2 separate regions of the Homo sapiens genome follow, and region 1 is linked to region 2. Evidence: promoter capture Hi-C in 16 types of primary human blood cells and fetal thymus (Javierre and others, 2016). All regions are on one chromosome and are shown on one strand. Each heading gives the region's core, a stretch centred on a gene start or on the middle of the fragment in contact. The rest is flanking DNA. Distances are from core to core; before and after follow the strand shown. Region 1 holds the start of PES1 (pescadillo ribosomal biogenesis factor 1). Region 2 holds the start of ZMAT5 (zinc finger matrin-type 5).

The links. Contacts are between HindIII fragments. The CHiCAGO score rates a contact against its expected background, and 5 or more counts as called.
Region 1: the fragment with the promoter of PES1 here is called in contact with the fragment with the promoter of ZMAT5 in region 2 in 3 of 17 cell types (fetal thymus, non-activated CD4 T cells and total CD4 T cells); the score reaches 7.1 in fetal thymus.

What each region holds. Positions count from the first base shown.
Region 1 is chr22:30,590,273-30,596,435 of GRCh38, forward strand. PES1 (pescadillo ribosomal biogenesis factor 1) reads right to left here and starts at 1,638. Exons shown (of 15, transcript NM_014303.4): 1 at 1,538-1,638. The coding sequence starts at 1,561. RefSeq lists enhancers at 1,466-2,181, 1,661-1,960, 2,181-2,260. The HindIII fragment of the contact is 19,848 bases long and covers 916-6,163 here.
Region 2 is chr22:29,765,385-29,771,790 of GRCh38, forward strand. It overlaps ZMAT5 (zinc finger matrin-type 5), which reads right to left and starts at 1,623. Exons shown (of 6, transcript NM_001003692.2): 1 at 1,488-1,623. UQCR10 (ubiquinol-cytochrome c reductase, complex III subunit X) reads left to right here and starts at 1,985. Exons shown (of 2, transcript NM_013387.4): 1 at 1,985-2,164; 2 at 4,294-5,029. The coding sequence starts at 2,015. The coding sequence ends at 4,335. RefSeq lists enhancers at 858-1,507, 1,477-1,706, 1,508-2,157, 2,067-2,116. The HindIII fragment of the contact is 8,045 bases long and covers 1-5,091 here.

The DNA of each region.
Region 1 (6,163 bases), core at 388-2,887, 820 kb after region 2:
AATCAGTGCACTGTAACAAATACCCTGCAAGCTAACAAGCATGTCGTTTCCAAACAAGATCTTCCTCTGGACTAAGACAGCAGGGGCCTCTTTGGCTAGGTTCAGCTCTAAAGAGACAAACCTGTTAGTCTCCCACAGGTACGTTTACTAATAACATCATAGTCATGAAACATACCCTTCATTCATTCTTTCCTTTAGACATTAATTGTCTATTAGGTATTAGGCCCATGCTAAGTCTTGGAGGTATAAAGATGAGTTTCAGACTGCCTTAAGAAGTTGAGTTTTCATTTATAGCGTTTTCCATTACCTTATGCCACACTTATCTCTGTCACCATGCTTATCCTTATAAATGTTAAGGGAATAAATAGTTCTCAATGGGGTACTCCCTGGGTATGTGCTGGGGGGAGGAGAGTTCAGCAATGTTTGGAGACATTTTTGGTTGCTGGGTGCTACTGGTATCCAGTAGGTAAAGGATCAGGGATGTTGCCAAATATCCTACTACACACAAGACAATCCTTCCCACAACAAAGACTCATCTTTGTTGATTCTGGCTCTGAAACCCAGCTTTTAAAAACTGTAACGATTTTGTTACATATCTACATCTGCAACTCAAGGGCAGGTTTTCCATCTTGTATCTTTGCAGTTCCGATGGCTAGCACTGGATACTCAATGTAGTGTGTTGGGTTAAGAACACTGGCAATAGAAACTTTCACTCTGAAAGAAACACTTAAGCCAACTATATATTCCTCATTCCCATTCCCTTCCCAGTCTTTTCATGTCACTGGGCCGATTCTCCATACAGCCACAAGAACTCCCTGAAAAACTCTAATCGTGTTACTCCTCCTTTTTTTCCTACTGCACGTAGAATAAAATCCAAGCTCTACACTATTCCTACTGCACTTAGAATAAAATCCAAGCTTACAGGCCTTGCACGATACAGTACGTGTCCAACCCCAATCTTATCAGATGCCATTCTTTTCTTGGTTTACATGCGAGTCATCCTAATGTCCTTCCAACTCCTTACACACAGCAAGCCTTCCCTGCCTACTGATCTTGGCACTTGGTTTCCCTTGTCAGGCCTGCTCGCTAAGCACTCCCATGCCCCAGAACCCATCCAAGACGTTCTGATCTTTCCCATTTCAGCCGAAATGTTATGCCTCGAAGAGAACTTCCAAGACAACACTAACCAACTAATGTAACGGTGCAGTAACGGTGAGCTCTACGTAATGTTTATCACCCTTTCGGTAAATAGTGGTCCCACGGCTCGGCCTGCTTTTGGAATGAAGCTACGCTTGGTAAGTTCAACTCTCTTTCACAGCCCTCTCCACAGAAAGAACTCTGGAGTTCGTTCTCGGATTTCACTAAACGAATACTGCCATCCTTGTCCATTCTCGGACCCCTTCTCGCAGCTGATTACGGTCACGTCGATCCCGTCTTTCCAGTCTCCACGAGACGGAGCCCGGGAAAAGAGTCGACCCCATGCTCTGCCGCCCCCGCACCCCACCCCTCGGGAATCCCCACCGTCTTTCCCAATCACCTTCTTCTTCTCAAGGCCTCCCATCGCTCCACGTTGAGGAGCCGACTAGGGCCGCGCGTACAGGGAGCTCCACTTCCTCCCGCACGTGCCCTGCCAAGGACCCCGAGGACCCTCCCCACCCCACGCTGTCTGTTTGTGCGGGCTGCCCAATGAGATGCCTGTACAAGTCCAGGGAAAGATGGGGATTTCCTCCTCAAGATTTAAAACTATAGTCTGAAAAAAATCACTGAGAACACTCTTTCCAGATCTTTCCCGCTCACAATGGTTACAAACACTTTAAGTGTTAAAACAAACGTGGATATACAGGCTTTTCTGTAATCACCCTGATGACGATTCATTGACTGTGAGCCTCGTTGCATGTTGGGACGGAGAGGGGCGGAAGGCTTAGGGACAGCGCGGTGCCTTCTGGGATGCAGAGGGGCGCCGCACTCCATGGTGCGCGATAGGATTGCGTTGTCAAGGTAACGGTTGCTAAGCGTCGTCAGACTTCGGCTGCCGCTGCTGAGAAGCGGTTCCCGAGGGGCAGGGTGAGACTGCGCTGAGTTCCCACCGGCTTCGGGTTCTCTTTGGTTCATTCGCGGTTATGCGGCTAAAATAGAAAAAAGGAAGACATTTTTCCTCGCGGAGGTATAGAGATCCTAGAGGCCACTTATATTTTCTGAGCCTTAGTGGTGGACTCGTGGTATATTTAAAATGTACATTCAAGGCTGGGAGCGGTGGCGCACGCCTGTAATCCCAGCACTTTGGGAGGCCAAGACAGGCGGATCATCTGAGGTCAGGAGTTCGAGACCAGTGTGACCAATATAGTGAAACCCCGTCTCTGCTAAAAATACAAAAATTAGCTGGCCATGGTGGCACACGCCTGTAATCCCAGCTACTCGGGAGGCTGACGCAGGAGAATCGCTTGAACCTGGGAGGCAGAGGTTGCAGTGAGCCGAGATCTTGCCACTGCACTCCAGCCTGGGCGACAGAGTGAGACTCCATCTCAAAAATAAATAAATAAATAAAATTAAATGTACATTCAACATATTCGAGCTTTTAATTTGTACACATAAATTCTGTAAGTGTTCCTCAAATAATAATTCCAAGATTTATACAAATAGTCACATCACCTTGAGATGGTGCAGTCTGGAAGTAGATGCAATTTTAAGAGGTTTTTTTTTTTTTAAACGTTTCTCCCTTTTTCCAAATTCCAAATTTCGTTCGAAGATGATCTCAAAAGTTTAAATTTGAGGCTCTTGTGAATGTGACCTGGCCCAAGGACTTGGTCTTAGAACTTACACAGAGACAGACGTTAAGCACTGGTGAATACTTGTTTTGAACTATGTGACTTGCACTATCTAATTTAAAGCTAAAATTTAAAACCCAGCAATTCCACAGTTAAAAATGAGATGAAGCCGGGCACGGTCGCTCACACCTGTAATCCCAGCACTTTGAGAGGCTGAGGCAGGCGGATCACCTGAGATCAGGAGTTTGAGACCAGCCTGGCCAACATGGCGAAAACCCATCTCTACCAAAAATACAAAAATTAGCCGGGTGTGGTGGCAGGCACCTGTAACCCCAGCTAGTTGGGAGGCTGAGGCAGGAGAATTTATTGAACCCAGGAGGTAGATGTTGCAGTGAGCCAAGATTGTGCCACTGCACTCTGCACTCAAGCCTAGACGACAGAGCGAGGCTCCATCTCAAAAAAAAAAAGAAGAAGAAGGAAAGGGATGGACTGGAGAGGGTGGCAGTGGCTGGCTCATGAGGGCAACACAGGAACAGGGCTGGTGTCGTGAGCATGTGGCCTGGGCAGTCATCTCACCCTGTCCCTCACAAATCACCTAGCTCGTCCTGCACAGATAGAACCATGTTTGCAGAAAGTTGAGCCTTGTTTTGCTCACATTAATGTTGAGGGGTCACTGGAAGACACAGGTGGGGATGTTCAGGGAAGCAATTGTAATTTCAGCTCAAAATAGCCGTCATATAGGTACCACATTTCACAAGGGAGGAAACTAAGTCTCAGGAAAGTAAGTGATCGCTGAAGATCACTCAGCTGCTAAGCTGTGCAGAATAGATTCTCACCAAGCAGTCTGGTTTCAGAGTCCTCTGCTAAACTCACATTCCACTACCTAACGTATAGTAGAAAGAATGTTATGTGACTCCAGGATAATGCCAGGTAGATTTTTGTTCCATAAAGGGAAGAGGTTTTTAACCATTAGGGCTGCCCACACACAGAATGCTTTGTGCAATACCAAGCCTCCATCAGCATTACGGTGAAAAGCCCAGTCTCTGCAGGGAGACACACCTGGTTTACCTCTAAGCCTCGGACAAGCCACTTTACCTCAGGGTACCTCTCTTCCTCATTTGTAAGATGGGGTCAACACTAACTGCATAAAGTAGTTGTTGCTTTAAGTATGTTTACATTGTTTCATTTAAAACAAAAATTTGCTGGGCATGGTGACACACGCCTGTAATCCCAGCACTTTGGGAGGCCAAGGTGGGTGGATCACCTGAGGTCAGGAGTTCAAGACCAGCCTGGCAAATATGGTGAAACCCCATCTCTACTAAAAATACAAAAATTGTCTGGGCGTGGTGATGCACACCTGTAATCCCAGCTACCAGCGAGGCCAAGGCAGAAAAATCACCTGAACCTGGGAGGCAGAGGTTGCAATGAGCCAAAATTGTGCCATTGCACTGCAGCCTGTGCAACAGAGAGACTCTGTTTCAGAAAAAAAAAATTAGCTTGGCACGGTGCCTCACACCTGTAATCCTAGCCTTTTGGGAGGCAAAGGTGGGAGGATTGCTTGAGCTCAGGAGTTCTAGACCAGCCTGGGCAACATAGTGATACCTTGTCTCTACTAAACTGTGCCCCGCCTTAAAAAAAAAAAAAAAACACAGCCAGGCATAGGGCCAGGTTCCTGTAGTCCCAGCTACTCAGAAGCTGAGTGGGGAGGATCACTTGAGCCCAGGAGTTTGAAAGCAGCCTGGACAACATAGTGAGACCCTCATCTCTACAAAAGGAAAACTTATTTTTAATTAGCTGGTGTGGTAGTGTGTACCTGTGGTCCCAGCTACTCGTGGTCCCAGCTACTCAGGAGGCTGAGGCAAAAGGATCGCTTGGGCTCAGGAGGTTGAGGCTGCAGTGAGGTGTGTTCACGCCGCTGCACTCTGGCCTGGGTGATAGAGAGACTGGCTCTCTACATAAACAAACGAACAAACAAATAAATAAAAAGTCTCCTGTCCAAATTTATAGATTCTCATGATTTTTCAGTTAACATATCTCATAATGAGAGTGAGATTCTAAAGTCACCCCAGATTTGTTTCCTCCTGTTGCCCTGGACAATGCCTGGCACCAACAAGGACTCTTTAACAAAGTCCCCTTGCTCCTGATCACTCTGGGAAAGGGTCTGGGTAAGTCCTATCAGAATCCAAGATCTCCTGCTTGAGGTTAAAGAACTCGGAGACTGGCTGGGCGCGACAGCTCATGCCTATAATCCCAGCACTTTGGGAGGCCAAGGCGGGTGGATCACGAGGTCAGGAGTTCGAGGCTAGCCTGGCCAATATTGTGAAACCTCGTCTCTACTAAAAATACAAAAATTAGCCGGGCAAGGTGGTGCTTGCCTGTAGTCCCAGCTACTCAGGAGGCTGAGGCAGAAGAATGGCTTGAACCCAGGAGATGGAGGTTGCAGTGAGCCAAGATTGCACCACTGCACTCCAGCCTGGGCGACAAGAGTGAGACAGTGTCTCAAAAAAAAAAAAAAAAAAAAAAAGATCTTGGAGACTTTATTTCTTCCCAGCTGGGTTCCCATCATTGGTGGACCCTGGAGGGAACCTTCCCCTGTCAGCCCTGCATTGGCAGGGGCCTTCCCAGTCCTTCCCAGTGCCTGGTCCCAGTTCCCTGCATCCAGACCCTGCAAGGAATGTCTTTGTCAACCCTGGGTTTAAAGGTGGCCTCCCTGATTCCCTCCATTCAGACCACGGAGGGAACATTTTGTGGACCCTGGGCTTACCGGCAGGGGTGGAGGTGTAATCCGGTCAAACTCAGCTGATTCGTAGATTTTGTGAGGGTGCTTATGCTAAGAGTACTCTCAAAGGGTCACCTGGGTAAGGGAAGTGCAATTATAGGGGGTGCTTAGTACTAACGGGACAGTCTCTAGCCAACCACCTTCAGGAACCCTTTGGCTTACATGTTTAAAAACCACATGGAAAGTTCAAAGACATGCTAGCTTTTTTGGGACGCTAGCTGGCTACATATTATAGCCCGTTTTTGTGCACATTTTTAAACTGGTGGGCAAATTACATCAAGGAAAATTCAGAGCTCAAATGGTCAACCTGCAGTTACAGAGTTAACATGTAGAGTCTTCTACATTCTCTATTTTATTTTTCTACCTGCTTTAAGTCTGTTGACTTTTCTACTGGTGTTGAGATAAAACTCTTTACAGTGTTACTAATTCAAGGCTACCTGGAGATTTTTTCTATATAGTTCAGCCAGGTTCCAGCTAAAATATAAGCATTAAAAATTTAACCCTAAACTCATTGTTTTTTCAAGTGTGTGTGTGTGTGTGCGTGTGTATATGGATATGGGGTCTTGCTATGTTGCCCAGGCTGGTTTCCAACGTCTGGGCTCAAGCAGTCCTCCTGCCT
Region 2 (6,406 bases), core at 373-2,872:
CTCCAGCCGCACAGAGTGAGACTCTGTCTCAAAAAAAAACAAAAAACAAAAAACAAAAAAAACTTAGATATCCTCCTCAATTCCTCTTTCCTGTGCACCCTACACACATCTGCTAGCTTGCTCTGTCTGCCCTCCCTCCCAAATTACATCCCAAATCTGATCACTGCCCTGCTCCACACCCTAACCTAAATTACCACCCATCAGGCCGGGCATGGTGGCTCACGCCTGTAATCCCAGCACTTTGGGAGGCCAAGATGGGAGGATCACCTGAAGTCAGGAGTTTGAGACTAGCCTGGCCAACATGGTGAAACCCTGTCTCTACTAAAAAAAAAAATTAGCCAGGCATGGTGGCAGGCGCCTGTAATCCCAGCCACTCGGGAGGCTGAAGCAGGAGAATCACTTGAACCCGGGAGGCGGAGGTTGCAGTAAGCCGAGATAGCACCACTACACTCCAGTCTGGACGACAGACCGAGACTCCATCTCAAATAAATAACCACCCATCTTCCCTCAAATGATCTACTACAATAACTTCCCCCTTGCGGTCCACTCTCCATAGACCAGCCAGGATGATGACATTAAAGTGCACATTAAATCTTGTCGCATTTCTCCTGAAAACCCTTCAATGGCCTCCTAGTGCAACTAGAAAAAGACAAGACTCCTTGGCCAGACGCGGTGGCTCACGCACCTTGGGGGGCGAGGCAGGAAGATTGCTTGAGCCCAGGAGTTGGAGACCAGCCTGGGCAACACAGTGAGACCCTGTCTCTAAAAACAAAAACCAAAGAAAACAAGACTCCGTAAGGTGGGTTCCAAGGCCAGACATGAGCTGACCGGAGTCAACCTCTTCACAGTCCACTCTACTTCTTTCCCTCAAACATCCCAGGACTGTAGCTGCCTCAAGGCCTTTGCACCAACGTTTTCCTGTTCAACTCTACTATTCATTCAGGTCTCTAGTCAAGTGTCACCCCCCAGAGCAGCTACCCAGGGTGCAATGTCACCACCACTGCCTCTCCAGTCAACCAAAGCACTATCTGTTTGCTGTACTGCATCTCCCCACCCGCCCACTCCGTAGATTGAGCGCTCTGTGAGAGCAAGGACTTTGTTCACTGCTGGGTCCCCAGAGCAGGGACCAGAACAGGCGCTGGGAAAACATCTGTTGAATGCCCCAGGTACTCCAAAGCCCTTGCTCTTTTCAATCCCAAGCAGGTTCCAAGTCTCCAGCCTTCCAAACCAGGGTTGCCCGGTGCGAAGCCCAGGGGTGAGAGGAACAGGAAGCAGGGCAGATCCGTCCCTGCCCTTAATCCAGGGTGAAGGGTTTAACCTCCAGGACAAGACTTTTGCCGCAGGCTCCAGCTCCTGGCCTAGACTTGGGGCTGGTGCAGGGGACAAGGCGAAGAGTTGAGCCAGGGTCTCGGGAACCCAGCTGCCCTCGCCCCTCTATCCACACCCTATCCCAAGAAATGGTGCGTCCCGCCGCAGGGCGTACGCACAGAGAAGGAAGTGTTCAAGTCTTCCAGTGCGGAGAAAAGAGACTAGGACTCGCCCCTCGACGTCTCGCGGAAGGTACCTGGCTCCCCGGTGGCTGCAGCTCCGGGCTCCTCCTCCTGCGTCCTCGCGTCGCGTACTGCTTGCTGGGATTCGTAGTCTCGCCTTGGCCATCAGTTCGCCCTTCCCAGAGAGCTTTGGGAATCTAAGCCGGGACTGGGCGGAGGGCGGGGAGAAGGTGATGGCGCGCGAGGGCTTCTGGGAGTTGTAGTTTGACATATTCTAACAGCCAGGAATTCTGGAGAAGAAAAATTGGGTAATAAATCTTATCAGATTATCTGGGCTGTCCTGATATGAACCTTTTGAGTTTTTTTCCTCATTCCCAGGATAGGAATACCTCTGTGGTTCAAAACACGAAGGCTGAGATTCAGAGGAACTACAAATCCCATAAAGTGTTGCACGTCTAGGGCCTTTGGGGAACGAGGTCGGCCCCAGCGCAGGCGCGGTGGCGCGAGTTGGACTGTGAAGAAACATGGCGGCCGCGACGTTGACTTCGAAATTGTACTCCCTGCTGTTCCGCAGGACCTCCACCTTCGCCCTCACCATCATCGTGGGCGTCATGTTCTTCGAGCGCGCCTTCGATCAAGGCGCGGACGCTATCTACGACCACATCAACGAGGGGGTGAGGGCCTGTGCCATCCCTGACCTTGGACCCGCCTGAGGGGTGACAGTGGAGTAGAGGTGGGATGGGACTCAGTATACTTTTACCAGGAAGGGGGTAAGGGGTAAACCGTCGGCGTCTTCTGTCTCGAGTCCGCCGTCTGTCCCCTTGGCTTGATGTGAATTCTAAAACGTTAAGCGAGGTTAATATATTTCATTTTGCAGGGGTTGTAAGTATTGCTGTGTGCCACCCTACATACCCACTTGCCCATTATCAGAAGCAAAAACTAAAGGCTAGTGAGAGCAAAGGACTTACTAGCTGCACAGGAAGCCAGGGGCAAGTCAGGGCCAGAAACGGGACCCCTGTCTCTCAGAGTTTCAAGGGCAGATTTGAGCAGGCGACGGTCGTGAAAAGGACGTTAGACACCTTAGACGCCGTGGCTGAAGTTTCAGACGGCGCTTCTGGTCCCCAAGGCTTCCCACGTAGACAGTTGGTATTAATGGTTGAGAGTGGGGGCTATGAAATCAGAAAGCCTTGGATAGGAACACTGGTCCTTGTCACTTAACTGTGGCATTAAGTTGAGCAAGTTTCTTCTCTGAACTCCGTTTTAACTGTGAGATGGAGATATTAATAGTAACCTGAGCACGATTGTGAGGATTACATGAGATGCAGGCAGGGTGCCACATGCCTGGTAGGTGGTACCACTGAAAAATAATCATTGCTTACATTCCTCAGGAGAAAGTGGAAGCATGAGGTAGGAATCGCAACACATTTTTGACTTTTATGTATCATGCACTGTGCTAGGTGCAGTGCATGCTTTATATCGCTAAATTATGACTGTGCTGGAGTAGGCCTTATACATATAGCCCTGTTCCACCACTCACTTGTGTTTTTAATTTGAGACTGTCTGACTCTGCAGCCCGGGAAGGCACTGTCCACTAGTGCTATGCTGCCTGTGACCAGTGCAACTTCCTGCCCCATATGAAAGCATTGCTACTGTCCCATCTCTTGCAAGTGGTTCTGTTAACCACTCCCATTGATCTGGAGAGACATCCAAGTATGTTGTTATAACTCACCCATTTTCCTTGTGCTTTTTTTTGTTTTGTTTTGTTTTTTTGAGACAGGATCTCACTCTGTCGCCCAGGTTGGAGTGCAGTGGCATGATCACAGCTCACTGCAGCCTTGACCTCCTGGGTTCAAGTGATCTTCCCACCTCAGCCTCCTGAGTAGCTGGGACCACAGGCATGCGCCACCACGCCCAGCTAATTTTTGTATTTTTTGTAGAGATGGGGTTTCACCATGTTGCCCAGGCTGGTCTTGAATTCCTGAGCTCAGGCAGTCCTCCTGCCTTAGCCTTCTAAAGTACTGGGATTACAGGCGTGAGCCACTGTGCTCAACCTCTTGTGCTTCTGGGAATGAGAATTTCAGCCAATTTAGGTCCCAGGAAATGTCTTAAATGGCTCATGGTGAAATATTTTGGGACTACGCACTTATAATCTCTTCAGTAATACCTGGGAGTTGAAGAACTGAGACATCTTCCAGGCTGTTTTCCTTAATAATTGTGTGTTTTGGGGCACTTCCCTCAATCTCAAACTGAATTTCCTGTGAAATTAAGATCACCCCTTTCCACTTACTTCACCTGGTGATTGAAAGCATCATAGTATTTTATAAATGCCAAGAATTATGCATGAAGGCTCGGCGCGGTGGCTCACACCTGTCATCCCAGCGCTTTGGGAGGCCAAGGCAGGCAGATCACTTGAGGTCAGGAGTTTGAGACCAGCTTGGCCAACATGGCGAAACCCCATCTCTACTAAAAATACAAAAATTAGCCGGGTAGCGCATACCTGTATTCCCAGCTGCTCTTGAAGCTGAGGCAGGAGAATCGCTCGAACCCAAGAGGCTGAGGTTGCAGTGAGCCGAGATTGCGCCACTACACTCCAGCCTGGGCGATAGAGCGAGTCTCCGTCTCAAAAAAAAAATGTGCATCAAGCATAGGATTGCTTCGAGTTTGCCCACCACAAGTGTATCTTTTTAATCAGGACATGGCATGTGTTTCCCCCAAGCTCATTTTAGAGACCAGGGCAGTGGGAGTAGTTGTAAAATGTGAGAGGCAAAGGTCAAAGTTTGTGGCTCTTGTCTTTAAAATGCAGAAGCTGTGGAAACACATCAAGCACAAGTATGAGAACAAGTAGTTCCTTGGAGGCCCCCATCCAGGCCAGAAGGACCAGGTCCACCCAGCAGCTGTTTGCCCAGAGCTGGAGCCTCAGCTTGAAGATGATGCTCAAGGTACTCTTCATGGACCACCATTCGCTGTTGGCAAGAAACGGCTTTACTTACAAAACAGACTCTTTACCTTCTGCTGTGTTTGAAGTATGTTTAGTCAGCATGCTCAGGAAATAAATGTGAATTGCCCTTGAGACCTGCTTCTACATTGGTTGCTTTGTTAACTCTACCTGATCTTCACTTGTCAGTAATTTGAGACCACTTCAAAGCCCTCTGCAAACACCCCAAAGGCAGAATCTGCTATTTTGAGTTTTCCATTAACTTCCAAAGAATTCTGGTTTTCAAAACAGGAGCCAGAGTTGGAGATATTACAGTCAACTTTGGCTTCTAAGCCAGTAATTCCATTCTTAAATACCTCACTGTCTTGGCCATGGGGAAGCACTATGGCCTCAGCTGGGGGAAAGACCCTGGCCTAGGGGTCTTAGCCACTCCCCACCCTAGGGTATAGTTCAGGGGTATCCAATCCTTTGGCTTCCCTGGGCCATGTTGGAAGAATTGTCTTGGGCCACACATAAAATACAGTAACCATAGCTGATGAGCTAAAACAAAAAACAATGGTTTGTGCAAAAATCTCATAATGTTTTAATAAAGTTGAAGAATTTGTGTTTGGGCCTCATTCAAAGCCATCCTGGGCTGCGTGCAGCCTGCAGGCCACGGGTTGGACAAGCTTGGTGTATTCTGCCTATTACTGAGTATCTTTTGGTAAGCAGTCATACCTCTCTGGGTCACAGCCTCCTGCCACAGTTCCACTCTGATGAGTTCAGTTCATAAAAGTGCTTAGTTGGTGGGTTTGAATCCTTACTCCACTGATTCTAGCTATGGGAACCAAGGTGATATGGTTTGGCTGTGTCCCCACCCAAATCTCGTTTTGAATTGTAGCTCCCATAGTGCCCATGTGTTGTGGGAGGGACTCGGTGGGAGATAATTGAATCATGGGAGCGGTTCCCCCACACTGTTCTCGTGATAGTGAATAAGTCTCACGAGATCTGATGATTTTATAAGGGGTTTCCCCTTTTGCTTGGCTCTGATTCTCTTGCCTGCTGCCATGTAAGACGGGCCTTTCGCCTTCCACCATGATTGTGAGGCCTCCTCAGCCATGTGGAAATGCGAATGCATTAAACCTCTTTTTATAAATTACCCAGTCTCGGGTATGTCTTTATCAGCAGCGTGAAAATGGACTAATACACAAGGGCAAGGCACTTGAACTTGCTGAACTCCGGTTTCCTTATCTGTAAAATGGGGTAGTAGAACATACTGTGTGGGATTTTTGGGAGTATTAAAGGAGTTGCAGGCCTGTAATCCCAGCACTTTAGGAGGCTGAGGTGGGAGGATTGCTTGAGGCCAACAGTTTAAGACCAGTCTAAGCAACATAGTGAGATACCCTGCCTCTACAAAAAAATTTAAAATTACCTGAGCATGGTGGCACCAGCCTATAATCCCAGCTACTTGGGAGGCTGAGGTGGGAGGATTACTTGAGCCAAGAAGTTAAGGTTACAGTGAGTTATGATTGTGCCACTGCACTCCTGCCTGGGGGAGAGTGAGACCCTGTCTCTAAAAATTTTTGGCTGGGCATAGTGTCTCACACCTGTAATCCCAGCACTTTGGGAGGCCAAGGCAGGCGGATCACTTAAGGTCAGGAGCTCAAGACCAGCCTGGCCAACATGGTGAAACCCCATCTCTACTAAAAATACAAAAATTAGCCGAGTGTGGTGGCATATGCTTGTAATCCCAGCTACTCGGGAGGCTGAGGCAGGAGAATTGCTTGAACTCGGGAAGTGGAGGTTACAGTGAGCCGAGATTGCGCCACTACACTCCAGCCTGGGAGACAGCAAGACTGTCTTGCTCTGTCATCCAGAATGGAATGCTATGGCCTGATCTCAGCTCAATGCAGCCTCGACCTGGGTGCAAACAATCCTCCCACCTCAGCCTCCCAGGTAGCTGGGACTACAGGTGTGCGCCACCACTCCCCACTAGTTTTTT